5 separate regions of the Homo sapiens genome follow, and regions 1, 2, 4 and 5 are each linked to region 3. The links are contacts of gene promoters, found by promoter capture Hi-C in blood cells and fetal thymus (Javierre and others, 2016). All regions are on one chromosome and are shown on one strand. The core of a region is centred on a gene start or on the middle of the fragment in contact, and the rest is flanking DNA. Distances in the headings are between cores, read along the strand shown. Region 1 has its middle 190 kb from the start of LINC01052. Region 2 has its middle 81 kb from the start of MIR4704. Region 3 holds the start of PCDH9 (protocadherin 9). Region 4 holds the start of MIR4704 (microRNA 4704). Region 5 has its middle 240 kb from the start of LINC01052.

Region 1 (4,749 bases), core at 2,015-4,514, 1.6 Mb after region 3:
CTGAAAATTCCAAAAACCAGAGCACATCTTCTCTTCCAAAGGATTGCAGCTCTTTGCCAGCAACGGACAAAATTGGATGAGAATGAGTTTGATGAGTTGACAGAAGTAGTCTTCAGAAGCTCAGTAATAACAACATCTCTGAGCTAAAGGAGCATGTTCTAACCCATCGCAAGGAAGCAAAAATTCTTGGAAAAATGTTAGATGAAAGGCTAACTAGAATAAACAGTCTAGAGAAGACCTTAAATGATCTGATGGAGCTGAAAACCACAGCACGAGAACTTTGTGACACATGCACAAGCTTCAATAGCTGATTTGATCAAGTGGAAGAAAGGATATCAGTGATTGAAGATCAAATTAATGATACAAAGCGAGAAGACAAGATTAGAGAAAAAAGAGTGAAAATAAATGAACAAAGCCTCCAAGAAATACGGGACTATGTGAAAAGACCAAATCTATGTTTGATTGGTGTACCTGAAAGTGACGGGGAGAATGGAACCAAGTTAGAAAACACTCGTCAGGATATTATACAGGAGAACTTCCTCAGCTGTGGAAAGCAGGCCAACATTCAAATTCAGGAAATACAGAGAACACCACAAAGATACTCCTTGAGGAGAGCAACCCCAAGACACATAATTGTCAGATTCACCAAGGATGAAATGAAAGAAAAAATGTTAAGGGCAGCCAGAGAGAAAGGTCGGGTTACCCACAAAGGGAAACCCATTACACTAACAGTGGATCTCTTGAGAGAAACACTACAAGCCAGAAGAGAGTGGGGGCCAATATTCAACATTCTTAAAGAAAATCCAGAATTTCATATCCAGCCAAAATAAGCTTCATAAGTGAAGGAGAAAGAAAATCCTTTACATACAAGCAAATGCTGAGAGATTTTGTCACCACCAGGCCTGCCTTACAAGAGCTTCTAAAGGAAGCATTAAACATGGAAAGGAACAACTGGCACCAGCCATGGCATACATAAACATGACAAATTGTAAAGACCTTCAACACTATGAAGAAACTGCATCAATTAATGGGCAAAATAACCAGCTAATGTCATAATAAAAGGATCAAATTCAAACATAACAATAATAACCTTAAATGTAAATGGGCTAAATATCCCAATTAAAAGACACAAACTGGCAAATTGGATAAAGAGTCAAGACCCATCAGTGTGCTGTATTCAGGAGACCTATCTCACATACAGAGAGGGATCAAAATACACATAGGATAAAAATACATGGATGGAGGAAGATTTACCAAGCAAATTGAAAGAAAGAAAAAAGCAGGGGTTGCAATCCTAGTCTCTGATAAAACAGACTTTAAACCAACAAAGATCAAAAGAGACAAAGAAGGACATTACATAATGGGAAAAGGATCAATTCAACAAGAAGAGCTAACTATCCTAAATATATATGCAGTCAATACAGAAGCACCTAGTTTCATAAAGCAAGTCCTCAGAGAACTATAAAGAGACTTAGACTTAACACAATAATAGTGGGAATCTTCAACACCCCACTGTCAATATTAGACAGATCAACAAGACAGAGAGTTAACAAGGGTATCCAGGACTTGAACTCAGCTCTGGACCTAGTGGAACTAATAGACATTACAGAACTCTCCACCCCAAATCAACAGAATATACATTCTTCTCATCACTACATCACACTTATTCTAAGATTGGCCACATAATTGGAAGTAAAACACTCCTCAGCAAATGTAAAAGAACAGGAATCACACACACAAAAAAACAGTCTCTCAGACCTCACTGTAATCAAATTAGAACTCAGGATTAAGAAACTCATTCCAAACCTCACAACTACATGGAAACTGAACAACGTGCTCCTGAATGACTACTGGGTAAATAACAAAATGAAGGCAAAAATAAAGATGTTCTTTGAAACCAATGAGAACAAAGACACTACGTACCAGAATCTCTGGGACACATTTAAAGCAGTGTGTAGAGGGAAATATATAGCACTAAATGGCCACAAGAGAAAGCAGGAAAGATCTAAAATCGACACCCTAACATCATAATTAAAAGAACCAGAGAATCAAGAGCAAACAAATTCAAAAGCTAGCAGAAGGCAGGAAATACCTAAGATCAGAGCAGAACTGAAGGAGATAGAGACACAAAAAACCCTTCAAAAGATCAATAAATCCAGAAGCTTGTTTTTTGAAAAGATCAACAAAATAGACCACAAGCAAGACTAACAAGAAAAGGGAGAAGAATCAAATGGGCACAATAGGAAATGATAAAGGGGATATCAACAGTGATCCCACAGAAATGCAAACTATCAGCAGAGAATACTTTAAACACCTCTACGCAAATAAAGTTGAAAATCTAGAAGAAATGGATAAATTCTTGAATACATACACCCTCCAAAGACTAAACCAGTAGGAAGTTTTGTCTCTGAATAGACCAATGAAATTGAGTCAATAATTAATAGACTACCAACCAAAAAAAGTCCAGGACCAGATGGTTTCACAGCTGAATTCTACCAGAGGTACAAAGAGGAGCTGGTACCATTCCCTCTGAAACTATTCCAATCAATAGAAAAAGAGGGAATCCTCCCTCACTCATTTTATGAGACCAGCATCATCCTCACACCGAAGCCTGGCAGAGACACAACAAAAAAAGAAAATTTTAGACCAATATCCCTGATGAACATTGATGCGAAACTCCTCAATAAAATACTGGCAAACCGAATCTGGCAGCACATCAAAAAGATTATCCACCACAATCAAGTGGGCTTCTTCCCTGGGATGCAATGCTGGTTCAACATACACAAATCAGTAAACATATTCCATCACATAAACAGACCAAAGACAAAAACCACATGATTATCTCAATAGATGCAAGAAAAGACTTCGACAAAATTCAACAGCCCTTCATGCTAAATACTCTCAATAAATTTGGTATTGATGGGATGTATCTCAAAATAATAAGAGCTATTTATGACAAACCCACAGCCAATATCATACTGAATGAGGAAAAACTGGAAGCATTCCCTTTGAAAAGTGGCACAAGACAAGGATGCCCTCTTTCACCACTCCTATTTAACATAGTGTTGGAAGTTCTGGCCAGGACGATCAGGCAAGAGAAAGAAATAAGGGTATTCAATTAGGAAAGGAGAAAGTCAAATTGTCCCTGTTTGCAGATGACATGATTGTATATTTTGAAAACCCCATTGTCTCAGCCCAAAATTTCCTTAAGCTGATAAGCAACTTCAGCAAAGTCTCAGGAAACAAAATCAATGTGCAAAAATCACAAGCATTCCTATACACCAATAACAGACAAACAGAGAGCCAAATCATGAGTGAACTCCCATTCACAATTGCTACAAAGAGAATAAAATACCTAGGAATCCAACTTACAAGGGATGGAAGTACCACTTCGAAGAGAACTACAAACCACTGCTCCAAGAAATAAAAGAGGACACAAACAAATGGAAGAGCATTCCATGCTCATGGATAGGAAGACTCAATATCGTGAAAGTGGTCATACTGCCCAAGGTAATTTATAGATTCAATGCCATCCCCATCAAGCTACCAGTGACTTTATTCACAGAATTGGAAAAAACTACTTTGAAATTCATATGGAACCAAAAAATAGCCCACATAGCCAAAACAATCCTAAGCAAAAAGAACAAAGTTGGAGTCATTAACGCTACCTGACTTCAAGGTATACTACAAGGCTACAGTAACCAAAACATCATGGTACTGATACCAAAATAGACATACAGACCAATGGAACAGAACAGAGGCCTCAGAAATAACATCACACATCTCCAACCATCTGATCTTTGACAAACCTGACAAAAACAAGCAATGGGGAAAGGATTCCCTATTTAATAAATGGTGCTGGGAAAACTGGCTAGCCATATGTAGAAAGCTGAAACTGGATCCCTCCCTTATACCTTATACAAAAATTAACTCATGATGGATTAAAGACTTAAATGTAAGACCTAAAATCATAAAAACTCTGGAAGAAAACCTAGGCAAAAGAATAAAAATAGAAAATACAATAAAATCAGGAAAACAAATTGTAATTTAAATGAGAAATTCAACAAAGAGATTACATAAATAATTCTCAAATAGAAATGTTGGAGCTAAAGAATTCAATCAATGAAATGGAAAATACAACTGACCACTTCAACAGCAGACTAGATTAAGCAAAAAGAATAATTTATGAACTCGAATATAGGTCAATTGAAATGACGTATATTCCATTAGAGATGCAGTTAAAAAATTAAAAAAAAGAAAAGAAAAATAATTAATCCAGCCTATAGGACTTATGTGACACCATTAAGTGAATAGGTATCCTTATTGTGAATGTTTTTGAAAGAAAGAAGAAGAGACAGAAGCTTATTAATAAAATAAATCCTGAAAACTTCCCAAGTCTTGTGAGAGATACGGACATCCGGATCGGGGAAACTCAAAGATTCTCGAATAGATTTGAAGCAAAGATGTCCTCTTTGAGGCATGTTATAATCAAATATCAAAAGTAAAAAACAATGGGAGAGTTTTAAAAACAGCATAAGAAAAGTATCAAGTAACATATAAGGAAATATCCACGGGACTATCCGAAGATTTCTCAGTAGAAGTCTTGTAGGCCAGGAGAGAATGGAATTATATATTCAAAGCACTGAAAGGAAAAAAAAAAAACCTTCCAACCTAGAATATTATACCAAGCAAATCTGTGCTTCAGAAATGAAGTAGAAATGAAGTCTTTGGCAGTCAAGTAAAAGCTGA
Region 2 (4,804 bases), core at 991-3,490, 1.1 Mb after region 3:
ACCAAACATTATAGCCCCAGTTCATGACCTAATTTGCAATTTCACCAGCAAATTTGTTGCTGATTTTACCTACTGACTTTCAATATATAAAGCGAATATGCTTAGTCCATATTTGGTTTTAATTGTAATACTTACATCTGTTTTTCTACATGTAATACCACCATATCTTTTTCTTAAAAAGTGCATACTAAATTTCAACTCTGTGTCCTATACTATACTAAAGAATACAGGAGAGATGAAAACACGTTTATCTCGCAAAATACCTATTCTTGAAGTGTTTATATCTAAGTAGAAGAAAAAAGCTAACATATGTCAAGGACAACTGGGACATGCTGTAAGCTTTGTAAATATTTGTGGAATGACTGAGTAAAGTTTAGCTTTGTAAGGTAAAGATCATAAGCACGATGGTAATGTAGAAATGAAGGAAATCAATGCTTATTACAGGAAGGAGATGCCAGTAAAAATATAGGTAGACATCAAAGAATTGGGTTAATTTGAGGAAGTACATAGTGGAACATAGTCTTCATTGACAGAAACAGTGGCCTCAGATACTAGGATTTTTGTTTGTTTGTTTGTTTTTTTAAAAAAAGGCTAACATACAGGGGCAGAACCTGGAATTTTCAAAGAAAAATTGCGGGAAAGAAACATATTCTATGAAAATGTTTTGTCATCTTCCAAGTTTACATACCTTGCTTTCTTCCTCATGCCTGTTAGCCTTGACCCGGGAGTTATCCCTAGGTGTTACCTCTTGCACACACACTAGGTGTGAGTACTGCTTGCTCTCATTTCTTGGTATCTGGCCCCATCATATTCTTCATTCATCACTGTTTTCATGGGGTTTTTTTTGGCATGCTTTATATACCTCTTATGGGTGTGCCATAGGTGTTCTGAGACTATAATTTCTAATTCTGATAAAGATCGTATGCTGAAACATGGGCTACAAGCTGGTGGCTCAGTTTGAAAAGCACAATCATTGTACAATCTAACAAGAAATAATCCCAACTAAAAACAAAGCAACAGACCTTTTACTGGCAAGATCAGAAGATGACATCTGTTAAGCTCACCTGGCAGAAGTGGTGCTTTTGGTCCACAAGGGAGCTGATGAAAAGGGAAGTGGAAAACACACATAGAGAACATGGGCCTTCGTGGAGAGATGTCAGTAATTAGGGGAATTTGCTTATGTGCTGCAGATGGCAGACACCAGAACCACATAATGTGTATGAATTTATACGTGTGGTTGGTTTCTTAGTAGAGAAACTATCACTAGTTTTATTTTATGAGTGTGGCTGTAGCTCCAATTCAGTGGTAATGGTCTGTATTCTGATATGAGTAAGAATAGGCGTCTATGTTTATGAACAGGATATGCCCTTTTAAAAAGTAGAACTGAACTGTCTTTGACACGGCATTTCTAAATGTTCATTTACAGAAGGGGGAGTTTACAAATGGTTATTTTGCTGATACATCATTTAACACTTGGGTGGACATAAGTAGCAAAATTGCCCAATTTTAGTTTTCGGTTAAAAACCAAGTCTGCTGGATGTGCTTTTGTATAACAGCTAGGTTTAATCCTCTGAAATAGTTAAGACAGTCTAGAAGGGTGAAGAGACAACAGTGGACAGTGAGGGAAAGTAGAGAAAATGTCAGCAACATCATTGATATTATTCTTATCTTTTTTTTTCCGAGCCAAAGGCTTTGAGAGAACTTTATTCTGTACCCGAAATTTGTGCTTTATCATATGCCTTTATTCTCCTATTACTCCTATTTTATTTTAAAGTTATTGATTAAACACAGGCTGTAGAGAAACCTGGACAATACTTTTATTCTAAAATTAAATTGCTATTGTTTGCTCTCTTGCTCTATTTCGTAATACGTCATTTGTGTAATTGAAGAAGAAGACAAAGATGTCTTGGAACCATGATATTGTTGGAGACACTCACGTTAGGGAATTTGAGGTAATCATCAGATTCATTAGATCTAAACTGGACATTCAAATGAGAGAATAGAAGGGAAAAAAGGCCAGTGGGTAGAGAGATAAAAAATAATATAGCCCTTATATTTTCAGAGTATACATTACAGAAGAGTTAAAAAACCATTCAAAGCCAGAGGCTGCATGCAGAACTTAGCAGGCTGTTCAAATGGAGAAAGATAGATTTGTACATTGGTATCAACTCTGGCCACAGTCTGACTCTAGTGCTTATGACTGATATTCCTTAGCCTCTAGGGCAACATTCAAGCACATGGGCAGAAAGAAAACAGAAATGGTTGAGCTCAGAAGAGAGCATTTATGAGAGCATTGCAAACAGTTCATTTTAAGGGTTTTCAAAATATGGTTGTAATATTGCTCAGTGACTTCATTCTGAAGTCTCTTAAAAGCACTCTCCTCAAAAATTGTAAGCTCATAAACACAGTTCTTTTGCTTCTTTCATTTTCAGTTCTACACTGTTCATTTCAGCAGTGAAAAATGGGAGTGAAAAAGATTGACCTGTGTGGTCAACTTAGACCTTAAATCTTAATTTGGCATACAGGAATCAAAATTATTAAATAGTAATCTCTGTCCTGTTTTTTAAAAAATAGGTATTTACATAGCTAAAATATGTCAAAAATTTGTATTGATGTCACATTTATCTGCCATCTGTGACACAGAAGCAAAGTTCTCTAATTGCTGACATCCTTTGGGTTACATGTATGTGTTTTCCACCTTCCTTTTTTTCAGCTGTCTTGTGGACTAACACAAAAGAATTGAAAATATTTTTAACTGTCAGAGTATATAATAGATGATACTTTCTTAACATCTGCTTTTTCTTGCTCTTCAGCTAGAAATTTCTATCAGATACATCATTGCTAGTAACTAGAGTCAGTGAAAGGATAGTTTTCTACTTCAATCACTTGTGACATTGCCTCTAAAAATTATAGACAGCTGCTCAGAATTGATTGAGGATGACCTCTTACCAACAGCCAGCAAGAAGGCAGGCCCTCAGCTGAATGGCCACAAGGAAATAAATTCTACCAACACTGTGAGAAAATTTGGATATGGAATCATCCTCAGTCAAGCCATCAGATGAAAACACAGCCTGTCAAATACCTTGATTATAGCCTTTTGAGACCCTAACCAGTCAGGTAAGTCATACCTGGACTCCTGACCACAGAAATATGAGATAACAAATATATGTTGTATGAAGTCTTTAAGTTTGCGGTGATTCACTACATGGCAACAGATAGCTATCCACCTGTAACTTTATATTTGAAGTCTTAGCAATGTAAAAATGATAATGAGACTGGATGAAAGGGCAACATGAAGATGAGTGTGCATTTACATGGGAAAAAATTATTAACTAGAGACAAGTTTACACTAAATAATGTAACAAAAGACATGTTGTAGTAAAACCTTGTCACAAGATACATACCTCCTACATATGCATTAGTATAGAAGTCAACATTTGATGGCAATGAAGTTACAAACAAGAGAATATGTCTCATATTTCTCTCACTATAATTTCCCTTAAAGTTATAAATAAGACCTATTGTTAAAGATCATGTCATATGTAACTAACCATGTCCTAAAATTATGACCACACTCTACTAGCTCTTTAAAATATATTATAACTTGTATTAACAATATCTATGCTATTTCAAATGTATTTGTTGATTAAGTAACATGCAATAAATGCTGTGTGAGTATTTCAGTATTTAGGGGAAGAAGTTATAATATAGAGGGACACCAATGATTCTGGGGTGCTTAGAAGCAAAAAACAAAGGAAAAGAAATGTGGGGACTGGAACAAGTAAACAGAAATGGACTGGGGCAAGTGTTCTCTTGGCCTTTGCTTCTTCCTGGGCTCTTCACACTTGCACAACAGCTCTCCGGCTTGTGACAAGCCAACAAGTTGATAGTTAAAAAAGCCAGAGAGCAAGCCTTCTTTTTCCTTGTTTTTCTTTCCTTTTTGTGTGTTTTGTTTCCCTACCTATATGTAGAAGCTCAAGAGTTCAATGTCATGGGTGTAGAAAATGCTCCAGGGTGTCACTTCACCTGTTTTTAGTTTGGGACTTAGTGTCATGGGTCAAAGGAAAATAATTTGCTAAGCTAGGCCAGCTCAAGAATCTTATATATACTTTATTCTTTAAACTATAAACTAATAAGCTTTTTATTTTAAAATACTTTTGGTTTCCCAGAAAGTGGGAATATAGAACAGAGAGTTCCCATATACCTCATACTCAGTTTCCTATATTATTTACAATATACATTAGTATATTTGTACTAATATTGTCATAGTTAATGAATCAGTATTGATACATTATTACTAACTAAGGCCCATACTCTTTTTTTTTTTAGATTTTTTTAGTTTTACCTAATGTGTTTTTCCCCCTGTTCCGTGATCCTCTTTAGAATACTATATTGCATTTAGTTGTTATGTTTCTTTAGGTTCCTTTTGACTGTAAGAACTTCATATATCCCTTTGTTTTTGATGACACTGACAGTTTTGAGGAATACTGGTCAGATATTTTGTAGCAACCTTTAATTGGGATTTGTCTAATGTGTCTCTCATGATTGGACTAGAGTTATGGAGTTTTGTTTGGAAGACTGCAGTGGTAAGTTCCATTCTCATCAGATCATAGCAATAATACATGAATCAATGACTTAATCAGTGTTGATGCTAATCATGATCACCTAGCTAAGGCAGTCTATTCCAGGTCGCTCCACTGTGAAATTATTCTCTATATTACTCTTTGCAAATAAGCCACCAAGCAACCCACACTTAAGGAGTACGGTATTTCATATGGAGTTTAAAGAATGGTAGGTATCAGGG
Region 3 (5,146 bases), core at 320-2,819:
ACAAGGGGTAATCTCCAACACGCCCTCAGTCAAGAGCTTAAGTATGTCAAGAGCCTTTAATGCCTAGGCAGCCCATTATAGAATGGGGAACACACAGGTTTAAAATAAATGCCCTTTATTCTTCCTGTAAGTTAGACCAAGTTATTCAATCATGTACTAAGACCTTCTCTGACAACCTTTATAGGTCATTCAGAAAATAAATTTTTGTTCCAAGTGAACTGTTCCTATGTTAATGCTTCAAACTTTACTCAGGTATCAGGCGTTAAGTACAAGCCATTACACAAACCTTTGTGGTTTACTGACTTTGAAAGATCAATCAAATATATTACTAGATAGTGCTTTGGGGGTCAGTATTTGAGAAATAAAGCTGTATTTTTTGGGGAGTCATTCCATCCAGTTCCCGTATGAAAACGAGAAACTTGTGAGGATTTAGTACAGAGCTGGAGTCGGAGAAATGAAATGCACGGGAAAAGACGAAAATCACAGGAAAGAAAGTTGGAATCAGCAGAAAGTGCCTAGGGGAAAGGAAGTGTTCCACAGCTTGGGAAACAGCTGCCTGGGACTCCTTCCAGCCCCTCGGAAGCAAAGTTCGCAGTGAGGTGGGCTGGAAGCGGGTTTTGCAGCAGCCGCGAGTCCGGGCTCAGGTTTCCAGGCGCGGCTGGAGCAGAAGTGCAGGGACCGCCACGATCCACCGCCGCGGCCGGTCCCGCTCCGCTAGAGGAGACTTCGCACGCGCAGCCGACTGGCCCGGGCTGACCGAGGGGACCCAGACGCTGCCACTTTCTCTTTCCAAGGCAGTTTCCGTGGCTCTGCATGTAGGAAGTGCTCCGATTAATTTTCTTTCCGGTCTCCGCAGAGATTCCAAATTCTGCGGTCCCCACCTTTCGCTGTACTCCCTCTCCGCCCTTCTTTCCAATGTCCCTGCCAGCAAAAGCCTCTATTTGCAGCACCGGGCATGTTGTCCGTTTAACGCGCTCCGGGGATCTGCTGGCTCGTGCTCCCAACCCAGGGGTGGCTATACGTCTCGCGCCTCTGTTCCTGGGTAGACTCCCCCATCTGTGCATTTTGGCCCCTTCACTTAGCAAAGAGATGTGCGAAGTGTGCGCCTGGAGACGAGCCGCCTCGGTGACCCCCATCCGCCCGCAGCGGTGGCCCTGGTTCCCCGGATCCGCGCCCGCGCCCTGCGGGTCTCCCGCGCCGCCCTTGCCCGCCGGACCACCCGGGCTCAGAGGGTCGCTCGCTTTCAGCGCCTGCGAGCGCCGCTTCCGCCCGGGCCTGGGGAGCGCCAGCGCGTCCCTCCCACGCCGGACCCTGCAGAGCATGCTCAGTGCACCTCATGGAACCCGGCTCTCCTGGGGCCAGGATCAGATTTCCGGGTTTTCGCTGCTGCCGAGGGGGCGCGGAGGAGGGGAGGCTGGGAGACAGTCAGCGCCTTGTTCCGCGCTCCCTCCCTCGCGCCGGGCTGCGGCCGCCCGCGCCGCAAGATGCAGGCCAATCAGAGCCCGGGGGCGGGGCCTGGGCAGTCACGCCCTCCCTCTGGGCTTATTGAGAGTTATATCAAGAAATTCAGTTCAGAGAGAGGAGAGGGAGAAGGAGAGAGGGGCAGAGGGGAAGGGAGAGAGGGAGAGCACGCGAGACGGAAAGGAGCGCCTCAGAGTCTCTGAAGCACGCAAGAGATAACCGATTAGGAATTTTTCGGGCAACTGTCACCCGGATAGCTGTCAGAGAATCATCATCACCGCAACTCTGACGTTTCCTACAAGAAGTTAGAGACTTAAGCAGTATTGGCATCGGATGGAAATGGTATGCATGCTGCTGTGGAAAATATCCCTGAGCTGAAGAAGTGCAACTATGTGTTGTGTGTGCTAAATGCCCAGAAGAACCCAGACCCAGTGGGTAAGAGAGACGAAATGTGGAGAGAATGACTAACGACAAATCCGTGAATTTGTTCTCTGGAGTTGCTAATTTGCCAGCCCGAAGCAACACATTTTACAAGGAGGAAACATTTTGCTGCTTCTGATTTCTCCCCAAACTGGTGCTACCAGATGCATGGCTTTCTATGTGTTGGAACAAATCATTCCTAACTGCAGCATACTGGGAAAGGGGAAAGGTTGAGGCAACTAACGTAAGTGTAAAGTTTCGCATGCACAATTGTAAATTCTGTGTTTAGATGTGTCCTCAGTGTAGGCGAAAGATGCTTGTAATTGGGTAGACGGTTGGGGCAGAGCTCACCTACTCGGCTGTATCTGCATCCCTACCTGCATCACTCTGCCGGAACTAATCGCGGGCATCAGCTACTGTGCAGCCTAATGCAGATAAGATTAGAGCCTGAGAACTGACCAGTCCTACTCAAGTAGGTAGCTGCCTGGAGCCTTGCACCCATTTAAACTGCAGTTATCTAAGCAGAAGCCTTTTTACCTGCATGATTGGGTTGCAGTATTTATGTGTGGCAAATGTTACTAATATTCTAACCAGAGATCAGGATTAAGAAATTGCATTTTTTTTCTCTTTTATGTTCAGTAGAAAATATTGTGATGTTACATGGGAATGTTAGCTGCGTTTCACTTATATCTCGGCACTCTCTTCCACCTCTAGGAAAATGAATCCTATATTATTATACATTTTTAAAAGTTTTAATGTGTTTATGAATCCTAATGAGGATAATTTGTCAATATGGAGAAAGGAGAGCAAGCTGTGGGCAAGAAATCTGAAGTCTTGTTGTTGTGCTTTTAGGCAATGAGGATGTGTAGAGGCCGGTGACTATTGCTTCTGATGCCGCTGCAGCGGCATGTCCGGATGCTCGTTTCCCAGTAAGATTGTATTAGAAGGCAGTTGAAGAACTGGGAGGAAAGAAAAAGATAGCCTTTTTAGAAAAGATAGGTGACTCAGTGGGGCAGAGAAGAAAACACATTTGACATGTGACAAAGCAATTAGCAGGAACCGTAGCTAAATACTTAGTGTTTTTCACTTGCACCTGAAAAGACTGAGGGAGGTAGGTTAGAGGCTAGGAGGAGGGTGAGACAGGGGGAGGGGAAGAGGAGAACAAGAATGCATGTTTTGAATTAAACAGTATTCTGAAAAACAACGTGCGTGAATATAGGTAAAAATAGCAGCTGTCCTTAATTCAAAAGTAGAAAATTTTATTTTCTCCCGGCAAATGCAACCAGCAGGAGATATTTAGTGTTTTTCTCCACAGAGTAAACTTGCAAACAGTGGCAGAGCAAACTGCCATGTTTACTAATGTTCAGGGGAAAATGTGTGGTGATATTTTGTGACGGTGTGTTTTTATTTACTGAAGAATAATATTGTCTATACAATTGTGTTGACAGCGGCTGTCTCCAAATAAGTGATGAGATATAATGCATCCTCCAGTCCATGCACGCTTCCTCTTGCAATTTGTGCATCATTCCTCAGTGGAAACCTTTAAACCCTAAAATCCAGGAAAAGAAAATAAATACATTATCATGGACCTGAGGGATTTTTACCTGTTGGCTGCTCTGATTGCCTGTTTAAGGCTGGATTCCGCAATAGCTCAAGAACTTATTTACACTATTAGAGAGGAATTGCCTGAAAATGTGCCCATAGGAAACATACCAAAGGATCTGAACATTTCTCACATCAATGCTGCCACAGGGACCAGCGCCAGCCTTGTCTACAGACTGGTTTCTAAAGCTGGGGATGCCCCTTTGGTGAAAGTTTCCAGCAGCACTGGGGAAATTTTCACAACCTCCAACAGAATAGACAGAGAAAAACTCTGTGCTGGCGCCTCATATGCTGAGGAGAATGAGTGTTTCTTTGAACTTGAGGTGGTGATCCTCCCCAATGATTTCTTCAGGCTGATCAAAATAAAAATAATTGTCAAGGATACCAATGATAATGCCCCCATGTTTCCATCTCCTGTCATCAATATTTCCATTCCAGAAAACACTTTGATCAACAGCCGCTTTCCAATTCCATCAGCAACAGATCCTGACACAGGCTTCAATGGTGTACAGCATTATGAATTGTTAAATGGGCAGAGTGTTTTTGGACTGGATATCGTGGAAACTCCAGAGGGAGAGAAGTGGCCACAACTGATTGTTCAGCAAAACTTGGATAGAGAACAGAAAGATACCTATGTGATGAAAATCAAAGTAGAGGATGGAGGCACTCCACAGAAATCCAGTACGGCCATACTGCAGGTCACAGTAAGTGATGTAAATGACAACAGGCCAGTGTTTAAAGAGGGTCAAGTGGAGGTGCATATTCCAGAGAATGCTCCCGTAGGTACCTCTGTAATTCAGCTCCATGCCACTGATGCAGATATAGGCAGTAATGCTGAAATCCGGTACATTTTTGGTGCCCAGGTCGCCCCTGCAACCAAAAGACTCTTTGCTTTAAATAATACTACTGGGCTGATTACAGTTCAGAGGTCCTTAGATAGAGAGGAGACAGCCATTCACAAAGTGACAGTGCTGGCTAGTGACGGCAGCTCCACTCCTGCTCGAGCAACGGTTACCATCAATGTCACCGATGTAAATGATAACCCTCCTAATATAGACCTCAGGTACATTATAAGTCCCATCAATGGCACCGTGTATTTATCTGAGAAAGATCCTGTCAATACAAAGATTGCCCTAATTACAGTTTCAGATAAGGACACAGATGTGAATGGCAAAGTGATCTGTTTTATTGAAAGAGAGGTCCCATTTCATTTGAAGGCGGTATATGACAACCAATATTTGTTAGAGACCTCTTCTTTGTTGGACTATGAGGGCACCAAAGAATTCAGCTTTAAAATTGTTGCCTCTGATTCTGGGAAGCCCAGTTTAAATCAGACTGCCCTGGTAAGGGTTAAGCTTGAGGATGAAAATGACAACCCACCAATTTTCAACCAGCCTGTAATTGAGCTGTCAGTTTCTGAAAACAACCGACGTGGGTTATACTTAACAACTATTAGTGCCACAGATGAAGACAGTGGGAAAAATGCAGACATTGTTTATCAGCTTGGACCGAATGCCTCCTTCTTTGATCTGGACCGAAAAACAGGAGTTTTGACAGCCTCCAGAGTATTTGACAGAGAAGAACAAGAACGATTCATTTTTACAGTAACTGCCAGGGACAATGGGACCCCTCCCCTCCAAAGCCAAGCGGCTGTGATTGTTAC
Region 4 (4,779 bases), core at 328-2,827, 1.0 Mb after region 3:
AAAAGAAAATATCTATACTAAAACCTTTGTTTTGTGAGTTTTAAATTGTCAATACGTTCTTTCATATATATGTATATTGAAGAAAAATAAATTTTATGAAATAGAGAGGAATCTTAAAATCCATTAAGGTAAAGATTTTGTCTTTTCAAAATGTCTCCAAGTCATATAATTTTTCCCTACATATGAATTGACCTAAAAACTACTTTTTTTTTTTTACTCTTTTAAAATACATACCATAAATTGCCCTTAGACAACATTAGTATTCCTGTTTGAGTTGATAAAAACCTTTGTAGTTCACTGCCATCTTCATTATGCATGAAATGTGACTATATGGAATATACCGTGACTCTAGGAGCAATAATGTATTACCTTGAGGCTTACATAGATCAAAATCTGATGGCTAGATTGAGAGATAGGATAAAATGGAGGTTGAACAAAATTATTTTTAGTTGCGGTTTCTTGACTTGACAGAATAAAGTTTTATGACTATTTGGTCTATTTTATAGTGAGTACCATGAATCAGTCAAGAAGGTTGATGACCAACTTACAACACTACTGGCTCTAATAATGTGTATTCATCTCTTCATTTTCCATGATAATATTTTGTCATTTTAAAATTCCATTTTTATTAGAGTCCACCTAAGCATATTTTTTTATCACCACAATACTTCCCACAATGTCTTGTTCGAAACTTATCTCTGATATATATAGTTCATTAAATGATTCATATTTCAGTCCTGGTAATAGCCCAGGGAATGTAAATCTTGAATGAAATAATTTACAGAGAAAATTATAAAACTCATTATGCACGAAGAATGAGAACTATGTTTACATAGATTTACTTTTTATTCCTAACTGAGGGTGGCTTTCTACCAATGTTAATTATCCCTTTTGGTTTTTAATTGAATTCCTAAGTTTTAGATTGGCACAAGACTACTCGGCAAATTACTGCATTCCCCAGCTTCATTTGAAGCTCTCTGTGAGTGGAGATAATGTGAGTGGAGATAATACTTTTATGTAGCTCTTTTAAGAGGGGATTTTGCCCTTTCCTCCCCAACTGAGATATAGGAATGATTGCAAGAGCTCAAGCAACTTCTGTAATCCAGAAGCTAGAAACTGCATACTGAGGATGACAGGGCTGTCCTATGAGCCATATCTGGCTGAAACATACCATCAAAGAGAGATATATGACATTTCAAAGCTTCTATAGTTTTTGGTCTTTTTGTTGTAGCAGCTCAGACTGTACTCTAACAGTACAGTAACATTTTAAAATTCAATTTCCATTTTATGCCTCCATTATTTCCTCATGTTCATTCCTTTTAAAGAGGCTATTCCCATTTGTTCAGCTGAGAAAGCCTTAATTCTTATTCTTTTTTGATGTGATACTTGTCTTGCTTCATCCACTGTGGGCTCTCTTCTATGTTTCGTAAGCACTATGGTCATCCAACTTTCTGTCGTTATTTATGGGCATTTAAAAATCAGCTATAGCCCTTTTAATTTGCACCTTGATGGAAGTAAGGAAATGTAATTCATTTCTATATTTCCATCCTCAGCCCTTAGCACATTGCTTGGCACATGCTATGATTCAAGAACTGTGTTTTGGATGCATGAACACAGAGAAACCTCCAAAAAGGGAATCTAAACCAGAGAAAAGCAGCCTGGGGACCTTGGGTTGGGGAGAGAGGAGCTACCTCACTGCTGGGCTTCCCTAAGGACTGAAGAATAAGGGAGAACACCAGAAACTGAATGCTTGATTGTTATGCATCTGTGCCTCAGGGTGGGTTTTTTTTTCCCTTAATTTTAATTTTAATTTTTTAGTGCCAGCTGGCAGAGGCCACTCTTCCCCTACCAGCTGCCTGCCTGAGGTGCTGGCCAGCTGCCGGCAGCTGTGCTATGGAAAGAGAGCCCACCAGTACCCAAGACAGACCACTGAATATCCCTTCTGTAAGCTTCCTTGATAACTCCCCTTTCTTAACATCTAACCCTGCGAGTTGTTATCCTTTGAACAGACAACTTTCTTCAAGGATTGAAGTGGATGTAGCTCTCTAAAAAAAGGCTTAGTGGATATCAACTTTATTTTCATGACCTTGTTTATATATTCTAGTCACACTACATATTTTTGTTTGTGACTGTCATGTGTGGAAAGGTGTTCCAGGACCTAAATATCATAACAAAAATAGGCATCTCAGTTGAGTGACTGCTTCTTTTCTCATTGCTTTTCCTGGTAAGTGAGATTGTTCAAGAAATTCTTCTCCCTCTTTTTTGGCTTCGGGTTTGTATTCTTGTTCCTATCAGTAGTGACCATAAGTTGTCACCTAATGGAATTAGTTCAGTGACCCTTACAAACTAAATTAACACTCTATCTCCAGTTTCTACTGGATATGTGTCTAAATCACAGTTGGGCACCTTGTTAGCTGCCTCAGTTAAGAGTTCAGTGAAAGAATAAGCCATCCTCCCCTTTCATCCCTAGGGGCTGTCTCTTAGTGTACTAGAGGCTCATTAGCAGCCTTGTAACACTGAGATTGCCCACAGTATACTTATTCTAACAGGTTTTCTTACTTTGAGACATGGTAAATGTCTATTGCAAATCCTGTTGACATTTAATTTTCAAATTATCTTCTGTATTTGTTTGCAATTTACTCATAATATATGCATAATTCCAATCTGTTGAAATATTGATTCTGATTTACGATTTAGTAAATTAAGGAATGGTTGGGTTGCATATTAAACTTTGGAAGTGACTCACAATATATTACATTTATATTACCCTTTAGAGTTGCACAAAGTCCTTCCATAAATACTGTCTATGAGCATAATGGGGAAAAGAATCATGTTTAATTTATCTTTAAATCCTTAGGGATATAACCCAATGCTAGCACATGAAAGACACATAATACAGGGTTTTTAGTGAACAACCAATCAAAGAGGATGATAGATGTGATAGTCTTAAAATCTACCCACAAATTAGTTGATACTTCTTGTATTTGTTTTCTATTGATGCTGTGATAAATGACCACCAAGTAAATGGCTTAAAGCAACACAAATTTAATATCTCACATTTCCTGAATTTAGAAGTCCAAAATGGATCAAAAATCAAATAAGGGCTCCAGCCTTCCAGAGGCTTGAGTTGAGAATCTGTTTCCTTGCCTTTTCCAGCTTCTAGAGGCTGCCTTGCCTGGGCTTGGCCTCACTCTGACCTCAGCTTTTGTCATCTCATCTCCTTCTCTGACTCTGACTCTCCTGCTCTCTCTTATTAGAACCTTTTGTGATTACATTAAGCCTGCCTGGATTATCCAGGATAATCTCTCCATCTCAAGATCCTTAACTTAATCATATCTGCAAAGTTTCCTTTGCCATGTAAAGCATAGCATAGATCTCTGAGATTAGAAAGTGGCATCTTTTGTGGGGGGTGGGAGGCATTATTTAGCCTACCACACTCAAGATGTTAGTCTAACTCCCCTCCTCTTGAATATGGACTGACCTTAGTGAATTGTCTAAGGAATAGAGTACAATTTAGTGACACTACAGGACTTTTCAGGTTAGGTTATTTGAGTCAATACAGTTTCTACCTGGCTCTTTTTGTCTTGGGTTTTGAAACCCTAAGCTACAATATAAGAAGTCTGGTTTCATTGAAGTTACTATGTGTTAGAGAGGCCAGCTGGAGATCACATATACACATGGTGAGATCACACAGAGAGATGATCAAGAGACAAGAGGTGTTCTAGCCCCCAGATGTTTGAGTCTTCTCATTCTAGACACTAGATATGTGACTGATTGAGTGAGGAAGACAATCACTCACATGCCTAGTGTCTAGGATAAGAAGATTCATCCTTAAGATGACTCCAGTCCCAGCCACCAACTGACTACAACCATAGAAAAGACTCGAGAAAGACTGCTGCCCGAGGCTTGGCAGAAAAAAATGTGTGAATGAAATCAATTAAAGGTATTGTTTTAAGCTACTGTTTTAGGGTAATTTACTATGGAGCAAGAGATAATCAGAAAAAATATAAAATATTTTTCCAACTTTAAAGATAAGAAAACAGAAGTTTAAAGATGTCAGCATATAGAAACATTCATGAAGCAAACCCAAATTAGAGAAGAATTAGAGTAACATCGAAAGTACTGAACAGGATCCTGGCCAGATCTCTGAAGTCCAGGTTCTAACGTTTGCTTGTGTGACTTTAAGTATGAGTCTTAATATCTCTGTGTCTCAATCTCCTTATCTGCCTTATCTGTAGAATGATAATAATAATAGTACCTACTTCATAGGTATATTCTGACTATTAAATGGTATAATGTAGATAAACATAAAAGAGTACCTGAAATTATTAATGCCACCAAATTATAAGCTATTTTTTAGTGTTTCATTATCAATTTAGTGCCTTTCTCAGGCTTACCAGTTTCCTTCCAAATAGCACTAAACTCAACTCATGAATGTTCAAGAATATTTTATGAAGATGTCCCAGTTGTCTGGGTTCTACCTCTATTGTCCCATTCAGAAATTTGAAGGGGGGTGGGAAACTTCCCAAATGAATGGCATCTCTGTCTGGAAGCAACTCTAATTCGAATATTTATTGGGCATAATTTGGAGATTCAAAAGCTTATTACTAATGTCCTACACTTTTTCTAAACCAATAGAGAGACTATTTCTTATGGAAAACCCTCTTGTCAGCGAACCAATTCTCAATTACCATTGAACTTTCTCCCACCATCTGCATATCTTCAAATATCTGTTAACTCCTTCCATTTGTCTTCTTACCTTCTACAGTTAAGTTATTT
Region 5 (5,299 bases), core at 2,279-4,778, 1.6 Mb after region 3:
AGCATTAAAACAGAGTGTGATGGGCATCACAAGCAGTCATGAAAGAGATTAAGACAGAAATCTCACCTTTTCTTATAGCCAGGCGATATACTATATACATTTTCTCATGATAAATAAAAACTAGAATTGGGCAGCACCATTTCTTACAAATATTTCATCCTGAACCACCTGGTCATTGTGGTAGTTGCTTATTTTGCTAATTGCCTTTAAAAGAAAAAAAAAATAAATGTCTTGAGTTCTTATGATAGGAGATAGGTTTGCAATTTGGAGCCAGGTGCCAATTAAAGTCAGGCTTCTACGTCTCAGGAAACTGGGAGATAGGACTACTGTCTTCTGTGATGATTACATTTCAAGGCTTTGACCAGATTCCCAGGTCCCCAGGTTGCTTATTTATCCTTTTAAGTGACTTGCATACATTTCTAAGACACAAAGAACTTACAAGTTTTCTAAAGTGAAGTTTTCTATGAAAAGGGTGGAGGGGTGACACAAAAGTCTCTCTCTTTATTTTCAACAGAGAGAATTAAGTTTCTTATTTTAACTTTGTATTTGCTCTTACAATATGAGCACCAACAGGTCTAAGCAAACATGTTTTTTTTTTGTTGTTGTTGAAGCAGGACTAGAACCAGGAAAGCAAGGGACTTGCCTCTGTCTCTTTACGGCGTTACTCTAGCGCTTTCTTTTTCAAAGGCTAACCTTTTTTTGGAAAATTATTTTTAATAGCATATATATACTTCATGTAATTTTTAGGAATAAATGGGTTTGACTGCAAATATCCATATATCATTTTGTTGGCAAAGTGATATGAACTCTAATTCATGTGAACTTATATTCATTTCCTTAATTATTAAGCTTATATGAATAATATCAGGTTCAACTGTTGTTTAGAGGGAATATAAAATATACATATGAGTGAAGCAGGGTGGTCTAGGGTGGGTGATATTTAAGTGAGGTGTTCATGAATGTAAAAATGAAAAACAATGAAAAAATTAGTAATAACAATAAAAACTGACACACTTCAGGTGACATTTTTCCCATTACTTTTTATTCAGCTATGACCCTCATAGAATATGTCTGAAAGTGTTGTGTCTTTTTCAAATTCATTCACCTCAGTCTCAGGGGAATAATTTAAATTAAGATCCATAAAGTATAAAATAGTGTCTCTCATACTCATAAATAAATGAATATTAAGTACACTTACTTACCTTGGGATATCACTTCTCTCACCAAAATTTTAATTTTACTTACTAAAACTTTTACAACGAGTTTCAAAAATATCAGTTACATATATCCAGGAGAAAATACAAAAATGAAACAAAAACAAAACCTGGCCCGATTACTTAGTGTTAGAAAGAAGCTGGGGTTTTATTTAAAAACAAATATGAATCATCAATGTAATTCAAAGGCATTATTAAAAGCAGATGTAAACTTAGGCTTAAGTTATATAGTAATAGAATATAGATCCAGGGAGGAAAGAGTCTCAATATATAATTTGATGGTTAGAATTTATCTGGAGATGACAAAGAAAAGCCCACATACATACAGTCTTACTATAGTCCTGAATGCAGAGTTTATTAACAATGTTAATTGCAGATGGTAAGAAGACAAAAATATTTTTCACTGTATTCAAATACTCACTGTAAATCAGATGTCAATAAATACAGGCATGTCTCAAAGGTTACAATTGGAATGAAGAAGTTCCAAAAGTTTTCACTCACTCATGAAGTGAATGAAGTTAATGGGGATTTGCATTTAAAAACATAATAAATGAGATGTTTATTATTCTCTCAAATAACATTTGAAAAAATTATTTCTACCCAATATAAATTTGGTGTAATATATAAAACAACAATGGATGGAAAATAATTGTAGTAACAGTTTGTGCTTAAGTAAGGTGAATTGGCCATCTCACAGGTTCTTTTTTTTTTTTTTTTTAACCAACAGATGGGAGGTCATTTGCTGGCAAGAAAGAATACAAAATCTGCAATTCACAATTTCTACTCTCATAAGTTGACACCAATCCACCTTTGTTGAAAAAATTTCAGAACATTTTCAGTAAGTTAACCAGAGGGCCTTGATGGTTTCTTTTTAAGAACATCTCTACTCCAAGGCACACACGCATCCCACAGTCATTGACTTTATAATGGTTTTTTTTGACACCTACCATATCTTTCACCTAGATAGTATAGATTAACATTAGATTTCAGTTGTAGAGTTTATATATAAGCATTTTAATTTTTCATGTTTTTACCTGGTTTCTTTTTAGAGTATGTCAAATTTGATAAATATACATTTTGTCCATGTTTAAAATACACTGGCAAGGCTTAGACATACGAAATTTCTTTATCACTTTACAAGTTCTGTCATGTGTTTGTTTTTCTATTTGTAGTTTATCTGGGGAGATACGGATAACATTTATGATCTTTACTTGCTCATATGAGAATTGCTGCTGTTAAAATACCCTGAAAACAGCATTTCAAATTAAGCCAAAAATGATTTGCCCCATGCTGTTGTCATCTTGTGTGAGACTTAAACAAGAAACAACTGTGAAATAAAAGCTACTAGGAATGCCCAGAAAACTGAAGTGCAACATAAAGAAACTCAACCATGACTGGATAGTACATTTTCTTTCCCCATGCTTCTATTAAATGAAAAAAAGATGATAATGTGTGAAATAAAATTCCTAAAGACCACAAAACAGACAGATTTTAATTCTAAATATAGCAAAGATTTATAAAATGGCTCATTTCTCTAGTGTTTTGTTCATTATCTAAATGAGCAATGATGCACTGATGGTGTATTAAATGGTGATCCATTTTATGTGATATTTAAACATTTCAAGGAACGCTTTTTGAAATGTTTAATGTTTTAAAATATATTGAGTGTCAATATTAGAAGAATAGTTTCATACTTTGCTTGTTTCTATCAAAATTACTATACATTTATTGCTGGATCAAAGATGCTAATTTTTAGAACAATATTTTTCCAAATGTTTGACTACTGCAGTAGCCATTTTCTTTTCTTTTTTTTTCTTTTTTTCTTTTTTTCTTTCTTTTTTTTTAGAGACGGAGTCTCGCTCTGTCACCCAGGCTGGAGTGGCATGATCTCAGCTCATTGCAACCTCTGCCTCATGGGTTCTAGCAAATTCTCCTGCCTCAGCCTCCTGAGTAGCTGGGACTACAGGTGCACACTGCCACATCAGGCTAATTTTTTGTATTTTAGTAGAGACAGGATTTCTTCATGTTGCCCAGGTTGGTCTCAAACTCCTGAGCTCAGACAATCCACCCGCCTCCCAAAGTGCTAGGATTACAGGTGTGAGCCACCACTCACCACCAGTAGCTATTTTCTTGACAAGTTTTGCTCCATTTTTTAGGTTTTGCAGCTTCTGCCCTGGGATATTATTAATGTAGCACCTGATGGGGTAGAAAAACACCGAACATATTTCAAATCAACCACAATCAATTTCAAAGTATGAGTTATCTGAAGCAGTACAAAAACCATTATTTTGTGTAAAGTGATTTGTTCCATTTCCAAAAATTTTATATTTAATAGACTCAAACAAAGTTTGCAATTAAAACAGTACCGTTAATGAAGGTGTCATTTGAAACACCGATTATTAGGCATTGAAAAGTGTAACAATCTCCCGTATTTACTCTCACATCTGATCACATGTGTGTGCATTTTGGGTAGTGTAATATTATTTGAAGCTGTGTTTCAACTCAAAATTCATGTAATAATAGCCATGTGGAATAAATGTAGTTCAAAGTATTTCCGTAAAAACTCAATTTACTGTTACGCTGATATTTAATAGCCACCATATGATTTTTTTCTTGTGTAGGCCTTAGGAAATTTGACTCAAGATGCACTTGGCCTAATGGAGAATGAAATTTTGTCCTTATGAAAACTTTATTAATAAAGTAAGGAGGCACACTGAAAGACCTGCCTGAGATCTGACTGTTAGTACGTGACAAAGCCAAGATTAAAAAGTAAGTTTGTCTGGCTCCAAATGCTGTACTCTTTCTACTACCAGAGAATATTTTTTAAAGTTGATACTATAATCTTTTACAACATGTAGCCAATTAAATATAAATCAGTAAAGCAATAAGTACAAAAATTAATATAAGGGACAGTTAGTCTATGTGAAGTAGAAGAGGAAGAAAGTTTTGGCAAAATTAATGTATTTACAAACACAATATTAGTCTCTCATAATCTTTAAGTGATCTTAAAATTTCCTTCTTATTTGTGTGTGTGGTTTCATTTTTATTCCAATGCTACAACAGGTATGGATTACAAGAGCTCTTCTTCCAAAGAGTGTTTGCAAATAAACTGAAACAAATTAATGATTTTAATATGTTTACATGCTAAAGTCTGTGTTAACCCATAGACTTTTTCCTAGACAATAAAAATTTTATTGCATTTTCAAGGTTAGAAGCCTTCAGAGAAGAAAAGTTTTCCATACGTAGCTTTTTACGATGATATCAGTTGATCTATATCTGATATCTATAACAAATATGCATTGTAGAAGGCAGATTCAATAAAGAAAATATTAGAACATGGGGAATAAATGGAAAACATTGATAATCAATCATGGTGCTCATTCTCACTAAGCCGGGACAAGACCTCAAAATCCTTCTCAAAAAGTGCTCCAGCCAGCCACTACCAATTGATCAGAGTTGGCATGTAAGTTGAAAACCTATTTACTATCCCTGCCCTCAATTCCATTCTCAACACTGCTGCCAGAATTGTCTTTCTAACATTTCATTCCCCTACCAAAATCCTTCAGTGACTTGACAGTGCCTTCAGGATGAAGTATAGACTCTTGAATATATCATAGAATGCCAGTGGAGTTTCTGCCTATCCCTTCTGCCTCAATGCCAAACCTACTTCCCCAAACTCACAATACAGAAACACACACACACACACACACATCCTAAAATGGACAAACACATACATGACAACACACATTTGGACTTACACTTGTAGATACAAACACAAACACACCTGTACCCAACTCAAATAATAGTAACAATAACAATAAAAAACTAGCAAAACTCTTCCATAACAGTTATATGTATTGTTTTGTTGTTTTCTTTTTCAGCCTCCCACTCCCCTTTCCACTTTTCAAATTGTGTAATTACTACTTAGGCATTCTAATATATCTCTTCCCTGACTACTCGGACTGATTTAGGTACTCAAAGTGTCCCTTTTCATTTCATTTTATTTGTTGTTAGAGACAGGGTCTTGCTTTGTCACCCAGGTTGGAGTGCAGTGGTGTGACCACAGATCACCACAGTCTTGAACT

Evidence for each region. The method cuts DNA at HindIII sites, captures the fragments that hold promoters and counts their contacts. A CHiCAGO score of 5 or more calls a contact.
Region 1: a contact is called between a fragment that was not itself captured here and the fragment with the promoter of PCDH9 in region 3, in 2 of 17 cell types (M0 macrophages and endothelial precursors). The highest score is 5.8, in M0 macrophages.
Region 2: a fragment that was not itself captured here is called in contact with the fragment with the promoter of PCDH9 in region 3 in 2 of 17 cell types (total B cells and naive B cells); the score reaches 7.6 in total B cells.
Region 4: a contact is called between a fragment that was not itself captured here and the fragment with the promoter of PCDH9 in region 3, in 1 of 17 cell types (fetal thymus). The highest score is 5.5, in fetal thymus.
Region 5: a contact is called between a fragment that was not itself captured here and the fragment with the promoter of PCDH9 in region 3, in 1 of 17 cell types (M2 macrophages). The highest score is 5.9, in M2 macrophages.

Annotation. Positions count from the first base shown.
Region 1 is chr13:65,670,155-65,674,903 of GRCh38, reverse strand. No RefSeq gene overlaps it. Among named protein-coding and RNA genes, the nearest start is that of LINC01052, 190 kb to the left of the region's middle. The HindIII fragment of the contact is 2,199 bases long and covers 2,165-4,363 here.
Region 2 is chr13:66,135,027-66,139,830 of GRCh38, reverse strand. No RefSeq gene overlaps it. Among named protein-coding and RNA genes, the nearest start is that of MIR4704, 81 kb to the left of the region's middle. The HindIII fragment of the contact is 3,798 bases long and covers 342-4,139 here.
Region 3 is chr13:67,226,759-67,231,904 of GRCh38, reverse strand. It overlaps PCDH9 (protocadherin 9), which reads left to right and starts at 1,569. Exons shown (of 5, transcript NM_203487.3): 1 at 1,569-2,125; 2 at 3,330-5,146. The coding sequence starts at 3,465. RefSeq lists a silencer at 1,159-1,298. The HindIII fragment of the contact is 4,939 bases long and covers 1-4,840 here.
Region 4 is chr13:66,217,291-66,222,069 of GRCh38, reverse strand. It overlaps MIR4704 (microRNA 4704), which reads right to left and starts at 3,820; the gene lies at 3,746-3,820. The HindIII fragment of the contact is 748 bases long and covers 1,204-1,951 here.
Region 5 is chr13:65,627,352-65,632,650 of GRCh38, reverse strand. No RefSeq gene overlaps it. Among named protein-coding and RNA genes, the nearest start is that of LINC01052, 240 kb to the left of the region's middle. The HindIII fragment of the contact is 5,353 bases long and covers 852-5,299 here.